2 separate regions of the Homo sapiens genome follow, and region 2 is linked to region 1. Evidence: promoter capture Hi-C in 16 types of primary human blood cells and fetal thymus (Javierre and others, 2016). All regions are on one chromosome and are shown on one strand. The core of a region is centred on a gene start or on the middle of the fragment in contact, and the rest is flanking DNA. Distances in the headings are between cores, read along the strand shown.

Region 1 (5,025 bases), core at 2,287-4,786:
AAGATGCAATCAAGGACTTCCGGATTCCTTACTGATTCTTCTGTGATAGCTCATGAGGCACCACTGCCAACTCTCCTATTAATGGGCACAAACTGCTCTTAGGAGATGGCCACAGGCAAGCAAGTAGAAACTATACACAGGTTAAGGTCTCTAAATATGTGAGCAAATGTAATGTAAAGGTTAAGAAAACATGCTTTGCAAAAGACAAAACGGAGCCTGAATAATTTCTTTCTTTTTAATTTTTGAGATGGAGTCTCACTCTGTAGCCCAGGCTGGAGTGCAGTAGTGTGATCTGGGCTCACTGCAACCTCACCTCCCAGGTTCAAGCGATTCTCCTGCCTCAGCCTCCTGGGTAGTTGAGGCACCAGCCACTAGGCCTGGCTAATTTTTGTATTTTTAGTTGAGATGGGGTTTCACCATGTTGGCCAGGCTGATCTTGAACTCCTGACCTCAGGTGATCCATCCGCCTTGGCCTCCCAAAGTACTGGGATTACAGGTGTGAGCCTCCATGCCTGGCCTGGCCCGAATAATTTCTTAGAAAGGGTAAATACACATGTGAACAAAGAAGAACCTGCACCAAGAATTTACTTTTTTTTTTTTTTTTGAGATGGAGTCTTGCTCTGCTCTGTTGCCCAGGCTGGAGTGCAGTGGTGTGATCTTGGGCTCACTGCAACTCCTCTACTTCCTGGGTTCAAGCGATTCGCCTGCCTCAGCCTTCAGAGTATCTGGGACTACAGGCGTGTGCCACCACACCCAGCTAATTTTTGTATTTTTAGTAGAGACAGGGTTTCTTTCACCATGTTAGCCAAGCTGGTCTCCAACTCTTGACCTCAGGCAATCCACCCGCCTCGGCCTCCCAAAGTGCTGGGATCAGAAGTGTGAGCCAGTTCCTGGCCTTTCTTTTTTTTTTTTTTTTTTTGAGATGGAGTTTCGCTCTTGTTGCCCAGGCTGGAGCGCAATGGCGCGATCTCAGCTCACTGCAACCTCGGCCTCCCAAGTTCAAGCGATTCTCCTGCTTCAGCCTCCCAAGTAGCTGGAATTACAGATGCCTGCCACCACGCCCGGCTCAAAAATTTACTTTTATTTTTAACATGCCTTCGACAAGGATGCACACCAAAGTGAAATAATTATGAGATTGCTCCTTATGACAGCTGAAGTAAAACAAAGGATAAAAACTATAAATGACACGGCATCATTTTATATTGGCATCAACAGAGGTGGGGTAGTCCCAGCTCTGCCACCCTAAACTGGGTAGCCTTGGGGAGATCCTTCATTTTTCTGAGCCACAGCTAAGCACACCCCATGCAGTGCTAGATTTCGGAGATCTAGCTTTCTAGATCTGATGGGTCTAGTGGTGGGAAGGTGGTATGTGTGCTTCAAAGAAAGCAAGTACAGGGCAATGTGCTAAAAGAAAAACCACCAAGACTCACTCAAGCTTAATGCTCTTTGTGCCATTAGCAACATGACAGAGAAAAGGCTGCATATAAGGCCTCTGTCGTGTGCATAACTTTGGCTTTAATGAGCCAACCCAGCAAAGAGTACCATTAAGGTGAAATCTGGAAACAACCAGTTGTCCCCAACCTTCTACAAAATCACCCTACAGCTTCTAAAACTCAAGAGAGATGCAAAACAGTAAGAGAACACTCAGAGAAAGGCAACATTTGGCCACAAGGATGAGGCTTTTCAGCCTAGACCTGCAGAAGCAGAGTATGGTCCGATGCACAGCGGGGAACTTGGACCTTTTCACCAAATCCCAGTGCCTGAATTCTTCAGGAGGTAACACGCAGATATCTAACAGGAAGTGCTTCTGATAGGCGGTGCAGTAAACATCTGGAATGCATCACAGCCAGGGAATAGCACAGACAGGATAGCACAGAGAGGATATAAGACCTTCAAGATGGCTCAAAAGACCTTGGGGTTGATGAACTATGCTGTTACTAAGGACTGTTTGGGGTACATTGATCATTGTTAGGGTAAAAAGCAGGTGATACAGTCCAGTCCTGTCCTCACACTTCACAATTTTTACTGGAGACAAGAATGGGCAGGATAAACTATGGGGCCCATAGGACCCTCCCATCGTCTGCTGTCTATCTGGCCGGAAAGCATGATGATGAACAAAGCAACCTTGCCTCTGTCAGGCACACCTATAATGGTTCCAAGAGCCACATTCCGACTGTTGTACTGCGGGTGGCAATGGAACGGTCTTCCGATTACCTAAAATGCCACAGATTCCCTTCTTCTCTAATACGCATCCGATTACCATAGAACTCTAAGATATCTTTTAAAACCTAGTCATATTAAAAGTTCCTTTTTCTCCATTAATCAGTCTGCCCCAAAGAAGCTTTTCCGTATTTCACAGGATCCTTAGAAGAGGCCAGCTAACTGTGATACCTAGCACCCTTATCTTTTCTCGATACACAGCGTCCTTCCTCCAGCAGAATCCTAAAATAGCAGCAGTCCGGATTAACATGGCTGTGAGGAGTAGGTGCTTAGCTGAATAACATCAGAATTAATGAGGGGCCGGACCCCAAACAGAGCCACCTGGTGGGCATGAACACCAGGCAGTTATGGGGCCGTTTCCTTCAACCAAGTGTCTGGTCCCTGGCTATCTCTGCTTCAGCCAGAACACATTCTGTCCCCCACCGAGGCTTTAAGGGCCAGCGCGCAGCACCCTCACCTTTCAGCAGGTCCGGGTGCACATAGCCCAACACGTCGGAGACCCCCAGCTCCTGGCGCGAACAGGTGCCTCCGTGGATGTGCAACCAGGCGGGCTCGGCGAGGGCAGTGCACAGCGCCGTGATAGACAGGGCGCCAGGCAGGGCCGAGGCCAGGCTACGCTCCGGCTGCTTGGGCAGAGCGCTGCCTCCCGGGCTCCTCCGCCGGCGCCCGCCGGGCAGCCCTGCGCCTCCGGGGGCGTACATGCCCGGGGCCGCCCGCCGTCGCTCCGCAGTCGCTGCTGGTCGCCGCCGACCTCCGCGGGGCGCGCAGAGCCTGACAGTCCGGTGGAGGATAGCAACGCTCCGGGTTCGCTGCAGGTGAAGCCGGGACTGGGCTGTCAGGGTTGACACCAGAGGATAGGGGGGTGGGACCCGGGGCTGACGGAGACGGGGAGGGCTGCGGGAATTCGGGGGGCGGAGACAGGAGACTCCGGAATGGGACTGCGGGACGACAACCGAAGAGGGCCAGGGGCCAGATGGGGTCTGGGCAGACTCGAGTGGGGGGCGGAGGGATCGGGGATCGGCTACTGCTAGAGCAAAGACCCGGAGTCAGGGTCTCAGCCAGAGGATGCCGAGGGGCGGAGGACCGGGCTGGGCCGCGGGGATCGGGGACCCGTGATCTGGGACCGGCGGTTTGGGGTGCGACCTGTGCGCAGAAAAGACCCTCCCCACGCCGCCCACTGTTCCTCACCAGTCAGCAGGCCCCAGGGCTGGGATGGTGCTGCTCAGCCCAGTCACGGGCTTCTCGGCTGCCGGGGGCCGAGCGTTCCCAGGCCCCAATCCCGCAACGCCCGGACAGACCCGGGGCCGATGCACTTCCGGCTTCCTCCTCCTCTGCCTCCGCCTCCTCCGGCTCCCCGCCCCGTCCCCCGCGCGCGTCACAGCCTGGGCGCGCCGCCGGCTCTGCGCAGGGCCTCACGGGACTGGTAGTTCGAGGCGGTCCCGCGATGCTTTCCCTGCCGAGGTGAGGGGAGCGACTACAACTCCCAGAGGGTATGGCGGCCGCAGCAGTGGGCAGTTGAGTTTCCGGGGCGACCCAGGTCCTCCGGCGGAAGCGGGAGCCTCTGTCGGCCGCGGAAGCCTGGAGTGGGCGGTACGCAGACGCGCGCGGTGAGACCCGCTGTCTGCTCAGCGGACTCTGCCCGCCCCCACCTCCCCCTGCGTCGGGCCGACATGAAGGACTCGCTGGTGCTGCTGGGCCGTGTCCCGGCGCACCCGGACTCCCGCTGCTGGTTCCTGGCCTGGAACCCCGCGGGGACCCTGCTGGCCTCGTGCGGCGGCGACCGGAGAATCCGCATCTGGGGCACGGAGGGTAAGGCCCAGCCTGGTTGCGCGGCCCTCAGCGCTGAGGGCTCAGCCTGCGCGTAGTGCAGGCGCTCAGCCTGCAGGGGAGGCTGAACCTGTTCCTGGCGGAGGGAGAGTGGGATGTTAGCCACGCCGAGAAGGGCTTTACAGGCAAAGAAGTCTGCGACTGTTGGGAGGAAAAACGTCAGCAGACAAGCTGAAATGTCAAGGGAATTGTGTTAGCTGCAGAGGCAGGAAAATGGGAAAAGAGAGGTGTTAGGAAAGTGGCCTTCAGAGTAACTTGCGACTGGATGGTCACATTTTATCCCGAGGGCATTGGGGAACCAATAGCAATTTTAGATCAGATTTGTTTTAGAAAGATGCCTCCAGAGGTTGGGCGCGGTGGCTCACGCCTGTAATCCTAGCAGTTTGGGAAGCAGAGGCGGGTAGATCACCTGAGGTCAAGAGGTCAAGACCAGCCTGGCCAACATGGTGAAACCCCGTCTCTACTAAAACTACAAAATTAGCTGGGCGTTGTGGCGGGCACCTGTAATCCCAGCTACTCGGGAGGCTGAGGCAGGAGAATCCCTTGAACCCAGGAGGCGAAGATTGCAGTGAGCCGAGATTGTGCCATTGCACCCCAGCCTGGGCATCAGAGCAAAAACTCCGTCTCAAAAAAAAAAAAAAAAAAAAAAAAAAGCTTCCAGACGAAGTAGATTCATTTGCATCTTTGTAAAAGCTGTGAAATACACTCCCTGAGCTTTCCCCCACTAGCTTGATTCCAGTGCTAGCCCCTGATATTGAATGGCTTCATGGTGCTGCACCCAGCTCCAGAGCCTGGCCTGCGCTCCGCCTTTAGGTGACAGCTGGATCTGCAAGTCTGTCCTTTCTGAAGGCCACCAGCGCACCGTGCGGAAGGTAGCCTGGTCCCCCTGCGGTAATTACCTGGCCTCTGCCAGCTTTGATGCTACCACTTGCATTTGGAAGAAGAACCAGGATGACTTTGAGGTACCCAGGCTGGTTG
Region 2 (4,867 bases), core at 759-3,258, 2.9 Mb after region 1:
TATCCACAGACACCATCCAGCTTATTAGTGACCACCACTCCTATTTGTTACTTTCTCCTTTAAGGCTGCCCCTACCTGAACTCTGGATCCCAGTACCATCACTTTCTCAAGGACCTCCCTTCTCCAGTGTTGCCCTCTCTTGACTCCCCTACCAGCATCTAAACATGCTCAGATCTATTGCATCTTAAGTCCTCTCCTAACTCCACATTCCTTTCTACCTACTGCCCTAGCTTTTCCACTTCACAACTAGAATACCCTCATTGTATCCACCTTGGGCCTCCTATTTACTCAGTACATCTGGTTCTTACCAAGATCACTGATAACCTTCTTGATACTGTTTAATAGATCCTTTTCAACCCTCATCTTATTTGCTCAATCTTTGGCATTTGGCACTGTTGACCATCTTGTCTCCTTGAAGCTTCCATAATAGCATATTTAAAATTTTTCTGCCTTTTCTTCTATCCTCAGCTTCCTTTGGGAGCTCTCCCTCCTTCTTCTGTATGTCCGTTAAATGTTGCTGCTCTTCAGTCTTATGTCGCAGGCCCTTAAATCTTCTCACTGAACCACCTTCCTGTGGCCTCAGTTACCATCCATTGAGCTCTGTGCCGTTGGCCGCTAGTTCAACAGTCAAAATGAACCAATTATCTTAACCCCATACTTCCTCTTCCTATAAAATCTGTCCTAGGAAATTTCACCTCTTTGCCAGGCCAGAAATCAGGGCATAATATTAATAAAATAGTTAGCACATATTGTGTACTTTCTTCAGTGCCAGGCACTCTTCTAACCACTTTATATGTATTAGCTCATCAGACTCAGCCTGATAATATGAGATGAGTCCTGTCATTATCCACATATTAGATAACAAATCTGAGACATAGAAAAGTAATCTGCCTTAGGTCATTCAACTGATAAAGGATAGAGTTGGGATTTGAATGAGGGCACTCTGGTTTGAGCTTGTAATCATTATATCATAAAGGACATGATGCTTGACTTCTCTTTCTCTCACCCTAATTCAACCTATTGCCAAGTATTGTACATTCTCCATGCTTAAAATCTCTAGGCGGTGTCCCTGAAGTATAAATCCAAAGCCTTCATGCCTGTAATCCGAGTGCTTTAGGAGGCCAAGGCAGGAGGACTGCTTGAGCCCAGGAGTTTGAGACCAGCCTGGACAACAAAGTGAGATTCATCTCTACAAAAAAAAAAAAAAAAAAAAAATAGCCAGGCGTGGTGGCACATGCTGGCTAAAGGGGGAGGATTGCTTGAGCCCAGGAGGTCGGGGCTGCAGTGAGCCGTGATCACACCACTGCACTCCATCCTGGGCAATAAAGTTCAAGCATTTCACTTGGATTTAAGGTTCTTTATAATCTAACATCTACTTCTCTTGCCTTCTTATTAACTCCCCATTCTTGTATTCCTAATAACCAGCCAGTAGAATTAAATTATTTGCATGGGTCCTATCTCCTTTTCCACTAAGCTGTTGCACATTGTTAGAATTCTTTTCTTTATCCCTTTTATGTCTCAGCTTCAATGTCACATCCACTAATTAGAGCATTAGATGGCGCTCTACTGTACTTAACACCTATCACAGCATTTAGGACACTGTATTTTAATTATTGCCTTACTTGTTTTTTAGTATCTCCCACTAGATTGTGGAGGTACTTGTTTCTTGAAGGCAAGGACAGGTTCACCTTCTTTTCTTTTTTTTTCTTTTAGACGGAGTCTTGCTCTGTCGCCCAGGCTGGAGTGTAGTGGCACGATCTCGGCTCACTGCAAGCTCCGCCTCCCGGGTTCACACCACTCTTCTGCCTCAGCCTCCAGAGCTGCTGGGACTACAGGCGCCCGCCACCATGCCCGGCTAATTTTTTGTATTTTTAGTAGAGACGGGGTTTCACTGTGTTAGCCAGGATGGTCTCAATCTCCTGACCTCGTGATCCGCCTGCCTCGGCCTCCCAGAGCTGCTGGTACTACAGGCACCTGCCACCATGCCCGGCTAATTTTTTGTATTTTTAGTAGAGACGGGGTTTCACTGTGTTAGCCAGGATGGTCTCGATCTCCTGACCTCGTGATCCGCCTGCCTCGGCCTCCCAGAGTCCTGGGATTACAGGCATGAGCCACTGCGCCCGGCCAGTTCACCTTCTTAATGTCACTCATATCCATCCCCTTCTCTCTCTCTCTCTCTCCTACCGTACTTTAGGCCCTCATTATCTCTAGCATGGACAACTGCCTTAGTCCATTAACTGTTCCCCCTGTCCCTAGTCCATCCTTTATTTAATCCATACTCAACCCTGCAGAGGCAGATTCGTATAACAGCTGAGTTAACACTTCCTGCTTAACACTTCAGTGGATCTTAGCTGCCTTTTAAAAAGTCCAAATATTTTGGTTCATTACATGAATTTATCTCCTCCCATTTTCTATCTCCTTATTACCTTGTACCTAGTAGGAACTCCATAAATACTTGTTGAATGAATATGGTACTGTGTCAAAGTCAGTCAAGCAGAACCAAGAACAAAGAGGTTAACCAAAGTAATGCAGTCTCGGTTGCGAGGCTTCCTAGGACAGTATAGCCATAGGCTTAAGTGGAAGTCGAAGACTAGTAGTGTAACTCTTTCTCTTAGGAGGGAATCCCCAAACATACCTTACTATTAGATGACTCTTTGTCTTTGCATATGCCTGGAATATGCTCCTCGACCTGGCAAACTTATCAGATTTGGTGACTCAGTTCAAGTATTCCTTCCTCTATTAAACCTCTCCACACCTTTCTAGACAGAATGTAAACTGATTCAACTTTTTGTAGGTTAGTTTATAAACTACAACAAGAGTGATGAAAATATGAAGACTCTTTAATCTAGAATTGTACTTCTAAGATATTACTTAACTAAATGATTTGGGGCCAGGTGTAGTGGCCCATGCCTATAATCCCAGCACTTTGGGAGGCTGAGGCAGGAGGATCACTGAAGCCCAGGAGTTCAAGATCAACCTAGGCAACGTAGGGAGACCCCCATCTCTACAAAAAATTTAAAAATTAGCCAGGCATGGTGGCGCATACCTGTAGTCCCAGCTGCTTCAGAGGCTGAGATGTGGAGATTGCTTGAGCCCAGGAGGTCGAGGCTGCAGTGAGACAATTACAGAGTGATACCCTGTCTTAAAAATAAAAAATAAAAAAGCCTAGCTACCTAGTTATGAACTTTCTTTATTTAGAACCAAACTCTTAACCTCAAGTTATACACTTTAATAATCCATTCTATTCCCAGTTCTTCAACCTGAAGGAAAATTATATTCTAAGAAATAGAATTGGAATAGAATGATTTAAGACCATAAGTAATCAAAATACTTCATTTTCATAGCTAGTATTTTCAACCTTTTGCTGCCTAATATTTCATTAGCAATGGTAACATGAATAATGTGGAAAGCATCCAAACATAGTGAATTTATTCTTAGCCTTTGTATATAAACCTGCATACTCCCAGTTGCCTCTCTCTCTGACCTCAAGGGTTCATCCTAAGTTAATATTGATCTAAATAAAAGTTATGCTGCCAGTAAATCATATATCCCAAAGTCAAACAGGAAATTATTTTTAAAGTGTTATAAAGACATAATGAAAGCTTTCCACGGAAATGTTCATGAACACATCGTTGATAACCAGAAAAACTAGAAGCCACCTAAAATTACAGACTAAGAGACTGAGTAAACTTGTTAACAATGGAATATTAAACAGTCATTAAAGCTGATGCAAAATAGATTTAATGGGCCAACGCGGTGGCTCATGCCTGTAATCCCAGCACTTTGGGAGGCTGAGGCGGGCAGATCACCTGAGGTCAGGAGTTCCAAGACCAGCATGGCCAACATGGTGAAACCCCATGCCTACTAAAAATACAAAATTTAGCCACACGTGGTGGCAGGCGTCTGTTATCCCAGTGAGGTAGGAGAATCGCCTGAACCTGGGAGGCGGAGGTTGCGGTGAGCCAAGATCACGCCACAGCATTCCAGCCTGGGTGACAGGGCGAGACTCCGTCTCAAAAAAAAAAAAAAAAAAAAAAAAAAAAAAAAAAAAAAAAATATATATATATATATATATATATATATATATATATATATATATATAGATTGAATGTCGAATGAAATAATAGTATGGGGAGGGAAATGTGTGTGCGTATACATGCTTAGAAATAAAATGGGTTTACACCAAAATGTTAATTGTGATTAGGACTATCAATGCTTTTATTTTTTTCTTCTTGCTTGTCTGTATTTTCTCATTTTTCTCGATGAACATTTGTTACTTGTGAATTCAACATAATTTGGCTTTAAGATATAGGTAATGTGGCTGAGTGCAGTGGCTCATGCCTGTAATCCCAGCACTTTGGGAGGCCAAGGTGGGAGGACTGCTTGAGCCCAGGAGTTTGAGACCAGCCTGGGCAACATGGTGAAATCCTGTCTGTAAGAGAAAAAAAAAAGATATATTACATAATGTATTTGCAGCAGACTTATTGTTTGAAAACTGTGAAATTATTTCAACTGAAATTATTTGAAATTTGTCTTCATTTATTTCTTTTGAATACTTGGTTATAGCATTGCTAAAGACTAATTGTAAAGCTAAAAGCCAAAAGCAACTGCACTGGATACTTTAAGTTTGGATTAAATAACCGATAATTGATAGTTAGAAAATAGAATTTAATGTTCCTTTTCTCGATGAATTAATTTGTTTGTCTTCCATTTTTAAAAGCATGCTGATCCCATTTTCAATGAAGAATTGCTTCCAGTTACTTTGTAACTGCCAGGTCCCAGCAGCTGGCTTTAAAAAAACAGTAAAAAATGGGCTCATTTTACAGTCAATTTCCAATGATGTCTATCAAAATCTGGCTGTGGAAGA

Evidence for each region. The method cuts DNA at HindIII sites, captures the fragments that hold promoters and counts their contacts. A CHiCAGO score of 5 or more calls a contact.
Region 2: a fragment that was not itself captured here is called in contact with the fragment with the promoter of TMEM127 in region 1 in 1 of 17 cell types (non-activated CD4 T cells); the score reaches 5.7 in non-activated CD4 T cells.

The regions. Positions count from the first base shown.
Region 1 is chr2:96,262,461-96,267,485 of GRCh38, forward strand. TMEM127 (transmembrane protein 127) reads right to left here and starts at 3,537. Exons shown (of 4, transcript NM_017849.4): 1 at 3,409-3,537; 2 at 2,678-3,052. The coding sequence starts at 2,921. It overlaps CIAO1 (cytosolic iron-sulfur assembly component 1), which reads left to right and starts at 3,765. Exons shown (of 7, transcript NM_004804.3): 1 at 3,765-4,029; 2 at 4,861-5,009. The coding sequence starts at 3,891. RefSeq lists silencers at 2,797-3,106, 3,157-3,366, 3,377-3,426 and enhancers at 3,657-3,846, 4,077-4,356, 4,954-5,025. The HindIII fragment of the contact is 2,360 bases long and covers 2,340-4,699 here.
Region 2 is chr2:99,157,237-99,162,103 of GRCh38, forward strand. LIPT1 (lipoyltransferase 1) reads left to right here. Exons shown (of 2, transcript NM_145199.3): 2 at 4,721-4,867. The coding sequence starts at 4,722. It also overlaps a transcript of MITD1 not described here. Among named protein-coding and RNA genes, the nearest start is that of LIPT1, 4.7 kb to the left of the region's middle. The HindIII fragment of the contact is 3,184 bases long and covers 417-3,600 here.